Regions from separate parts of the Homo sapiens genome. Here all the other regions are linked to region 2. The links are contacts of gene promoters, found by promoter capture Hi-C in blood cells and fetal thymus (Javierre and others, 2016). All regions are on one chromosome and are shown on one strand. The core of a region is centred on a gene start or on the middle of the fragment in contact, and the rest is flanking DNA. Distances in the headings are between cores, read along the strand shown.

Region 1 (2,700 bases), core at 33-2,532, 250 kb before region 2:
AAAATGAGTTCTTTGATCAGAGGTAACATTGTGTGAAATGCCATGGCAACAAATATGGCATTTTTAAGTTCACAACTGGTGGTGAAAGCCAAAGATTTGTGGTCAATTGAAGGTCAATGAAGGTCAATGAAGATACATATCCAGAATATGTATCTATTTTTGTGAGGACATATCACTCCCTCTATATGATAGAGTCAACCTTCTCCAGATGACTGGCTAGTCTCCAAAGGGAATGGTGCCAAACTAGGGAGCAATATTTGTCCCTGCTCATATAATATTAGGAGCTCAACAGTGTTCGTAGCAAGATGAACCTTGATAAGAGGAAGTCTTTGGTTTTGACCAAAAATATGGCCTTCTTCACTACTGTCATTGCTGCTTTATACAATGGGTCATTGGGCAAGCTTCAGGATGGCACAGGTAAAGAAGCTGACTGATAGTCACAGATCATGTCATCTTGTCTACCTGATTATTGATATTGCAGTGCATGCCCTCTGGTTGGCAATTAGATGGGGCACTAGGATCATCACATCCTGTCCCCATTCAGAGAAGTTCATTCATTTACCTTTCCTAGAAACCTCTTTTTTCCCAAAATTTTTAATGTTATTTTTTTCAAATCCTTTTCCAGCCATCTAATTTGTTAGCCATTTCTCATGAAGCAGTATAGATTCATGTCTCTGGCCATTTGTCCTTCCAAACAATGTGGAGAAGCAAATATACTACCCACACTTCTACTCACTGGGAGGATTTCTATTTACTACTGTTTTATATTTTTAAAAAATAATTTCAATATTTATTATAGATTAAAAGGTATATGTGCAGGTTTGTCACATGGGTATATTGCGTGTTGCTGAGGTTTGGTGTACAAATGATCCCATCACCCAGACAGTGACCATAGTGTCAATAGGTGGTTTTTCAGACCATGGTCTCCTCCCCTCGCCCCATCTAGTGGTCCCCAGGGTGTATTGTTATCATCTTTGTGTATACGTGTATTCAATGTTTAGCTTCCACTTATAAGTGAGAACATGTGGTATATGGTTTTCTGTTCTTGTGTTAATTCACTTAGGATAATGTCCTTCAGCTATATCCATGTTGTTGCAAAGGACGTGATTCTGTTTTTTTATGGCTATGTAGTATTTCTTTCTTTCTTTCTTTTTTTTTTTTTTTTGAGATGGAGCCTCACTCTGTTGCCCAGGCTGGAGTGCAGTGGCGCAATCTTGGGTCACTGCAACCTCTGCCTCCTGGGTTCAAGCGATTCTCCTGTCTCAGTCTCCTGAGTAGCTGGGATTACAGGTGCATGCCACCATGCCCAGCTAATTTTTGTATTTGTAGTAGAGACGGGTTTTCACCATGTTGGTCAGGCTGGTCTTGAACTCCTGACCTTGTGATCCGCCTGCCTCGGCCTCCCAAAGTGCTGGGATTACAGGCGTGAGCCACCGCCCCTGGCCACTGCTATGTAGTATTTCATACTATATATGTACCACATTTTCTTTATCCAATCCACCATTGATGGGCATATAGGTTGATTCCATGTCTTTGCTATTGTGAATAACTCTTGCTTTTTAGGCCTGACACTGCATGGGGCTATAGTGCATTGCTGGTGCCTGTATACACAAATTCATGGGCCTGGTTCTGGAGTGGCTCTGCTAAGTGCCTAACGCTTAGGCCCATGAATTTCTTGTTATTGTACCTGCTTATAGGGTACTCCTCATGATGCCACAGGTTTTGGTAGAGAAAGAGGCAGCCAAGCAGCACGGGTAAATACTAGAGGGGTCTAGCCACCTGCTTGTATGGTTTCCTTACACCTTCTGGAACTACTCTCACCTGTTTTATGTACTGCATTTATATTTTATAGTGAAATGGTCCTGTGCACATTCAATTTCTTAGTTCAGTGGACTCTATAATACCCAACACAGAATGGTGAGCTGGAGTCATGTAGTCATTTGTTGCCCCATAGTCAGGTATTTGTTTCTACCAGGCCCAGTAACAAATCGGAAGCTGCTTTTCAAATGGAGATTACTTTGCAGACAGAAGAAGGTATAGCCCAACTCCAAACTACAGAAGCCTCTATTGTGATTCAACTACTAGGACTCCATAAACTTCTGTGTTTGCCACAGCTACCTCTAACATCATTGGGTCTATTGAGTCATAGGCCCAAGTGGCAGGGAAGCTTGCACTGCAGCTTGGATTTGCTGCAAAGCTTTCTTCCCCCTACTCTAAATCCTACTTAAAATTGGTATCCTAGGCCAGGCGTGATGGCTCACGCCTGTAATCCTAGCACTTTGGGAGGCTGAGGTGGGTGGATCACGAGGTCAGGAGATTAAGACCATCCTGGCTAACATGGTGAAACCCGGTCTCTACTAAAAATACAAAAAATTAGCCGGGCGTGGCAGCGGGTGCCTGTATTCCCAGCTACTCCAGAGGCTGAGGCAGGAGAATGGCATGAACCCGGGAGGTGGAGCTTGCAGTAAGCCGAGATAGCGCCACTGCACTGCACTCCAGCCTGGGCAACAGAGCGAGACTCCATCTCAAAAAAAAAAAAAAAAAGAAAGAAAAAAAGAAAAGGTATCCTACTAGGTTATCTGGTAAATGGATTAGAGTATCACAATTAAGTGTGATATATTTTGCCTCTTCCAAAATCCAAAGAGGACTATTTTATCTTGTGACTCTTTCTTTATGATGGATATATCATGAGTATGTAAT
Region 2 (2,764 bases), core at 21-2,520:
AGCTATTTGCTACAAAAACAAATCATTCAGGTCCGTGGAACTAGAAATGCCTTTTGCGCATAAAACTGAAAGGAAGAGACAGCAAAACAGCAGATGAAGACATGAAGTCATCACTCACAAAGCACATGATTCAAATAAAAATAAAATACTCATTGGAAAAATGGGCTACCCACACACACAACATCATGGCTGAGCCACAGCAGTTGTCAGTTTATGTATAAAAGAAAAAAACCAACATTTTGTATGAATTTCAGAGAAAATAAACTATTTGTCTCTTGTTAGTGGCTAATGTAAATATCAGAGCAAATAGCATTTTTGGTTCCAATAAAAATGTAGAACTTTTCAAAATGCTCATACATAAATCCTGACATCAAAATGTACATATCTTAAGATGTTGGAACATGAGCACCAAATGATGTGCTTAATACATTTGTTCTTTCTTGAAGAGATGAGGTATAATTGTATGCAATCATCTTGTAGCTAGGAATTTATTAAGAACTCTGAACTATAAGTACTAAATCAAACTAAATAGTCTCTTATCCTATTTTTCTCTCTCATACTTGTCATTCCTTCCTGAAGTTCTCATTACAACTACATAATTCTACCCCTTATAACCCATAGGTTTTCTTCAGAAAAGGAGGATAGCTTCCCCCACTCCTTTCCCTCAGAACAACAGTTTTCTCCCCACAAATGCTCATGGGGTGAGACCCACAGACATAATTTCAATGAACAACAATACCTTATTGGGTAAAAGAACTAGTTTATTGCTGCTTTACTTTTTGCAAATAGTTATCCTGTCTTTAAAATTTGCTATTGTTGTCCCTTGAGAAAAGACAACTTGTTCTAAGAGAAAGGTTAATGGAAAAATATGAACTACATTGTGATGTTAAATACAGATTATTTTTCCAAAGCTAAAAATCACAGTCCTCCTTCATTCAGTCCTAAAGAAGACATAACATTGCTCTCTAATGGGCTGTTCACAAATGACAATTATTGAATGAATAATAAAGGAATAATAGCAATGTGATTTCCACTTACATCAACCACAAAAATCTTCTGGGAATCATCCAAAAACTGCACTTTTAAATGTAGCATTCTCAGCGAGGCCGTTGGGCTGCAAGCAGGCTCAGAGTGCTGTGGGTGCTTTCTCCAGGAATTTCACTCCCAGCTGGATGTGGTGCACTCGGGCCCCCCCACCCCCAGCCAGGCATTCCCACTGTCAGCGGGGCACACTTCCGTTTGCTTGAAGTAATGCACACCCAAGGGCATTTGTGCTGCCAAGTGCAGGGGATCAATAGCATCTGGGCAGTCTCCTGTTTGGTCAATATCAAATCTAACTGGACTTCCTCTAGCCTTCTTAAACTCAGCTCCTTTCTTCAAAGAAAAATATAAAGAAAGCAAGCATTTGTGGTCCCTGGGGATTTTCTTTATTTCACAAGGGCACAATTTGAAAACCCTAGATCAAGCTTTAATAAACTGAGAATAGCCATTCTCAAAAGTAAAAAGATTCAAGTTAATCTCAAATTGTACTAGAAATTTCATGGCCAAGCTAGGAAGCATCTATCTATCTATCTATCTATCTATCTATCTATCTATCTATCTATCTATGCTTATATATATCTATATATAATTATATAGATATAATATATCCATATATAATTATATAGATATAATATATCCATATATAATTATATAGATATAATATATCCATATAATTGCTATTATATAGAAACATATATAATATAAAATTATGCATAATTTTAATTATCTGAATTCACATGATTTAGAAATAAAAACTATATAAAAAGGTATATAGAAAACTTCACTTCCACTCCTGTTCCCTCTTTTCTGTGTTCCCAATACACCCCTATTGGTAACCAATTTTTTTTCTTTCTATTCCCATAGAATTTATGTGCTTACATCTATAAAGAAATGAAACAAGGAATACAACTAAGGTCGAACCCCATCTCAGCTGTAAATAACATTCATGTATTCTTGGATAAATGAACTAATTAGGATAAAGAACGTTCTAATAAAACAGTCATCAAAGAATTACATTAATATCATTTTCATTATATAACAATAATTACGATGACATTTATTCTGGACTGAGATAACACTTAAGGCAAGAACTAAGAAAACTTACCTCCATTTGTATTTTTTGTTGACAAGAAGATAATGGGTGAATGATTAAAAGATGCCAAGCACAGTAGATTACATTACGATAGGATTCTTGGCTGAAAGTGGTATGAAAATATAGAAGAAGAAAAGCCAATTTAAAATGTTCAACTACTAAAGAACTAGCTCGTTTATTTTTATAAATGAATAAAGGGTGTCAAATTGTTGTGATATTTAAATTGTACCGGATATGTTTAAAATAGTGATGTAACAGTTTTTATTTTAAAATACCAATATTTATATGACACCAGCAAACACATACTTTGTCAAGTATTTAACTTCCCATGAAAAATTTTAGATGTCAACTTAGATGGGTGAGGGGACACATGATTTTTCAAAATACTTTTGGGGGTCACATGAGCAGAATACTTTGTGGACCACTGCTTTAAAACACTATTTCTCTAAGTACGGTTGAGGGACCAACTTACAGAATCACCTGGGAAGGGTGGCTGACTTTTTAAAAATGCCGATACCTGAACCCCATCCCCAAATTGGGTTGTTAGGTTTGGGGTGGACCCCAAATAGATCAATTTTCAACATGCACTCCAAGTGGCTCTCATGCAAACCATTTAAGAAGCACTACTTA
Region 3 (2,897 bases), core at 169-2,668, 230 kb before region 2:
TCCTGAAACTCGACTAGTATTACTTCATAATTTCTGGTAAGCTTTGACTTTGTGGAACCATTTTGATTAATCAGATTTTGTTTGGGCCTATATGGAGGTGGAGGACCTAAACCTGTTAAGTATCTGTCAATTGAAGAACAATGACAGAACAGTCGAGCAACGAGTGAGATTTCAGTAAATCCACTAGATGTTGGCTTTACTTCATGCCACTTTTACTAGTTTGGTTTTCATCGAATTGCCTGGTTGTTTTAGCATCATATAGTCTAATTTAGCATATTAGGTTGTATCTAAAATGACAGATGGAACAGCCCGTTAAAAAGCAAAATAAATTTATGGCCATTCACATGGCATCATAACTGTTTGATTTTAAATTTATCAAAAAAGTACAAAGTGTCTAGCCAATTTGCTTAAAAACTGGCAAAAATTATTTATGAGGAGATACAGCATAAATGCAAAAATAAGCCACTACTTCTTTCTGTCAAAGCTTCAGTCAATCACCCAGTTACGTTATTTATGAGATTAATAGACTATTTAATTATAAGTTTGACTATTGACCAGAAATGGACCAGAATCATTGACGTAATATAACCTAATATAAGCACCTTTCTTCAGGATCCAGTAGGCTACACAACTTTATCAGCCTTCCTTTGCCTTTATAGGTCCTAAATAAAAAGAGAAGAAGGCTCATATTTAAGCAGTTGTACAAATGTACGGTAGAGTCTAATACATTTGTACAAACTCTACAAAGTCATGGCTAGAGTTGAACAAGGATTTCTTTAGCATTTATCTTGATTAATTATAGAATATAAGCATTTTGGGAACCACTTTAAGCTCTAAAAACACAAGTGTGTTCAAAAATAAGTATACAAAGAGAGTAGTACTAACTAGAACCACCATAGCAGCTCCTTGGGAGAGGTTCTTTTTTAGGGTAACAACAGCAATTTTTTTGTGACCTACGCTTTGTTGGTACTTGTCACACAAGATGAATGGAATTAATACACAAGATAGGGTTTATGCAACTATCATCTAAGAATTCCTCCTCAGATCTCATTTTACAGGCAAACACCTTCTTTGAACTAATGTGCAACAGACCCTCAAATTCCATGTTAAGGTGATTCCATCTCATGATAAAAATTCTCTTTCATATGGAAAATACTTTATCATTTTAGAAGTATTATTGCATAAATTATTATTCCTTATACTCATAATTTCTTCTTTTAAAGCGTTTTATGTATCATAATAAATGTTTTTTCAACATCATTTCTGTAAGTATTGGATTTCCGTCACATCAATTTCTCATAAAAAGGATAAACTGGAAAAAGAATAAATTATTATTCTTTCCCATCTCCTGTTTCATTGCTTTGTCTTCCATGGTGTACTTTAACAACCCATCTGGCCATTTTTACTCCCAATCCTTACACACATTTTTGAGCTTAGCATATGTGTTCTCCCTGAAAATCATGGCCAAGATTGTGATTGTTTTTCTCCTTCTTCCCCATGAGACCCCATATACATTATGTAACTTATCTAATCCTTCTCATTGCCGTCTTGGCCAACTAGTTCCCAAAGTCTTCTAACACAGCACGTTTATAGGGTACCTGTAACTAGGTCTCTTCCTCTTCTGTCCTATCCTTCTTTCTCCTACACTAATCCAGTGTTTTCTTGAGTCGATGCTGTCTCTCTTGATCAAAACTTTTCAATCCTTATCTTGATTCCCCTTTGTAGATTTTCATGCCTTTCTCAGCTCTACTTTGCAAAATCTCCTCTTTTTGGGTTTTGGGTATACAGGGGGAAGCATGAAGAATAATTCCCAGGTGATAAAGATAAGGAGAGTGATGCCATAATGAGGCATGGAATACTTACTCAAATGTGTTCTGATTTAGCCAACATGTTTGCCTGGAGTTCTGGAGAGAGGCCTAAGCTGCTCATATAAATTTGGAAGGAAAGAGAAGAGGATGGAACCACAGAATCTTGGTAAACATCAACATTTATGGGACAGGCGGAAGACCTACTTCAGAAAGCAGTATGAATAAAGGTGGTTAGAGACATAGGAGGAAAGATTTTGCCTTTTCAGTAAGGCCTTTCCTGATGACTTATTTAAAATTTGTAACTCTCTCCCTGGCATTCTTGTCATTGGTGATTTGGAAAGATGGTTTCAAAGATGTATGGGGTAAAATAGATTTCTGTGAGGTGTGAATCAAATACTGGCGAAGAAGAACAAATAGCTAATGTAGTTCTCTTGGATATAAAACAGAAGAAGTTACAGGATCTGTTAGAGGGTGATATGGGGGACTTTTAAAGATAGGAGAGAATGGAGAAATTTATGGGGTAGGGACCAAAAATCAATAGATTCAAAGCTTATTCAGAATATAGTTGATTGATGGAGAAAGTCACTGAACAGAGGAGTTGCAACCCAGAATATCTATCTATCTATCTATTTATCTATCTATCTATCTATCTATCTATCTATCTATCTATCTATCATCTATCTATCGATTGAGAGAGATGGCTTTTCATTGAGTAGCTGAAAGGTGCCTTCTTCAATTGAAAAAAGTGGGTAGAAAGGATATAGTATGGCACAAAAGTTTTTTGGTAATGGCAATAGAAAGACTAGAAACCTCTGCTCTAAGGTCTAGATTTTTTGTGAAAATGAAGGAGTATGCAATGTAGGGGGTTTGAAAAGACTGACAAAAGTTTGAAATACGTTTTGAGAAAATGGAGGAAAGGTGTTGACAAGGCTAGACCTGCAGTGATCTCCAAACTTGAGCTTACATCATAATTGTATGAGGCGCTCATTAAAACACAGAATAGAAAGGACAGGATGCATTGAGAGACATTCTACAAAATAACTGGTCTGTACTCTTCAAAAGTGTTGAAGTCACAAAACTCTAAGAATG

Evidence for each region. The method cuts DNA at HindIII sites, captures the fragments that hold promoters and counts their contacts. A CHiCAGO score of 5 or more calls a contact.
Region 1: a fragment that was not itself captured here is called in contact with the fragment with the promoter of FRMD7 in region 2 in 2 of 17 cell types (neutrophils and non-activated CD4 T cells); the score reaches 6.6 in neutrophils.
Region 3: a contact is called between a fragment that was not itself captured here and the fragment with the promoter of FRMD7 in region 2, in 3 of 17 cell types (naive B cells, activated CD4 T cells and monocytes). The highest score is 5.8, in naive B cells.

Annotation. Positions count from the first base shown.
Region 1 is chrX:131,872,425-131,875,124 of GRCh38, forward strand. No RefSeq gene overlaps it. Among named protein-coding and RNA genes, the nearest start is that of FIRRE, 43 kb to the left of the region's middle. The HindIII fragment of the contact is 1,766 bases long and covers 400-2,165 here.
Region 2 is chrX:132,126,750-132,129,513 of GRCh38, forward strand. FRMD7 (FERM domain containing 7) reads right to left here and starts at 1,271. Exons shown (of 12, transcript NM_194277.3): 1 at 1,039-1,271. The coding sequence starts at 1,095. The HindIII fragment of the contact is 2,038 bases long and covers 1-1,464 here.
Region 3 is chrX:131,896,770-131,899,666 of GRCh38, forward strand. No RefSeq gene overlaps it. Among named protein-coding and RNA genes, the nearest start is that of FIRRE, 68 kb to the left of the region's middle. The HindIII fragment of the contact is 1,873 bases long and covers 483-2,355 here.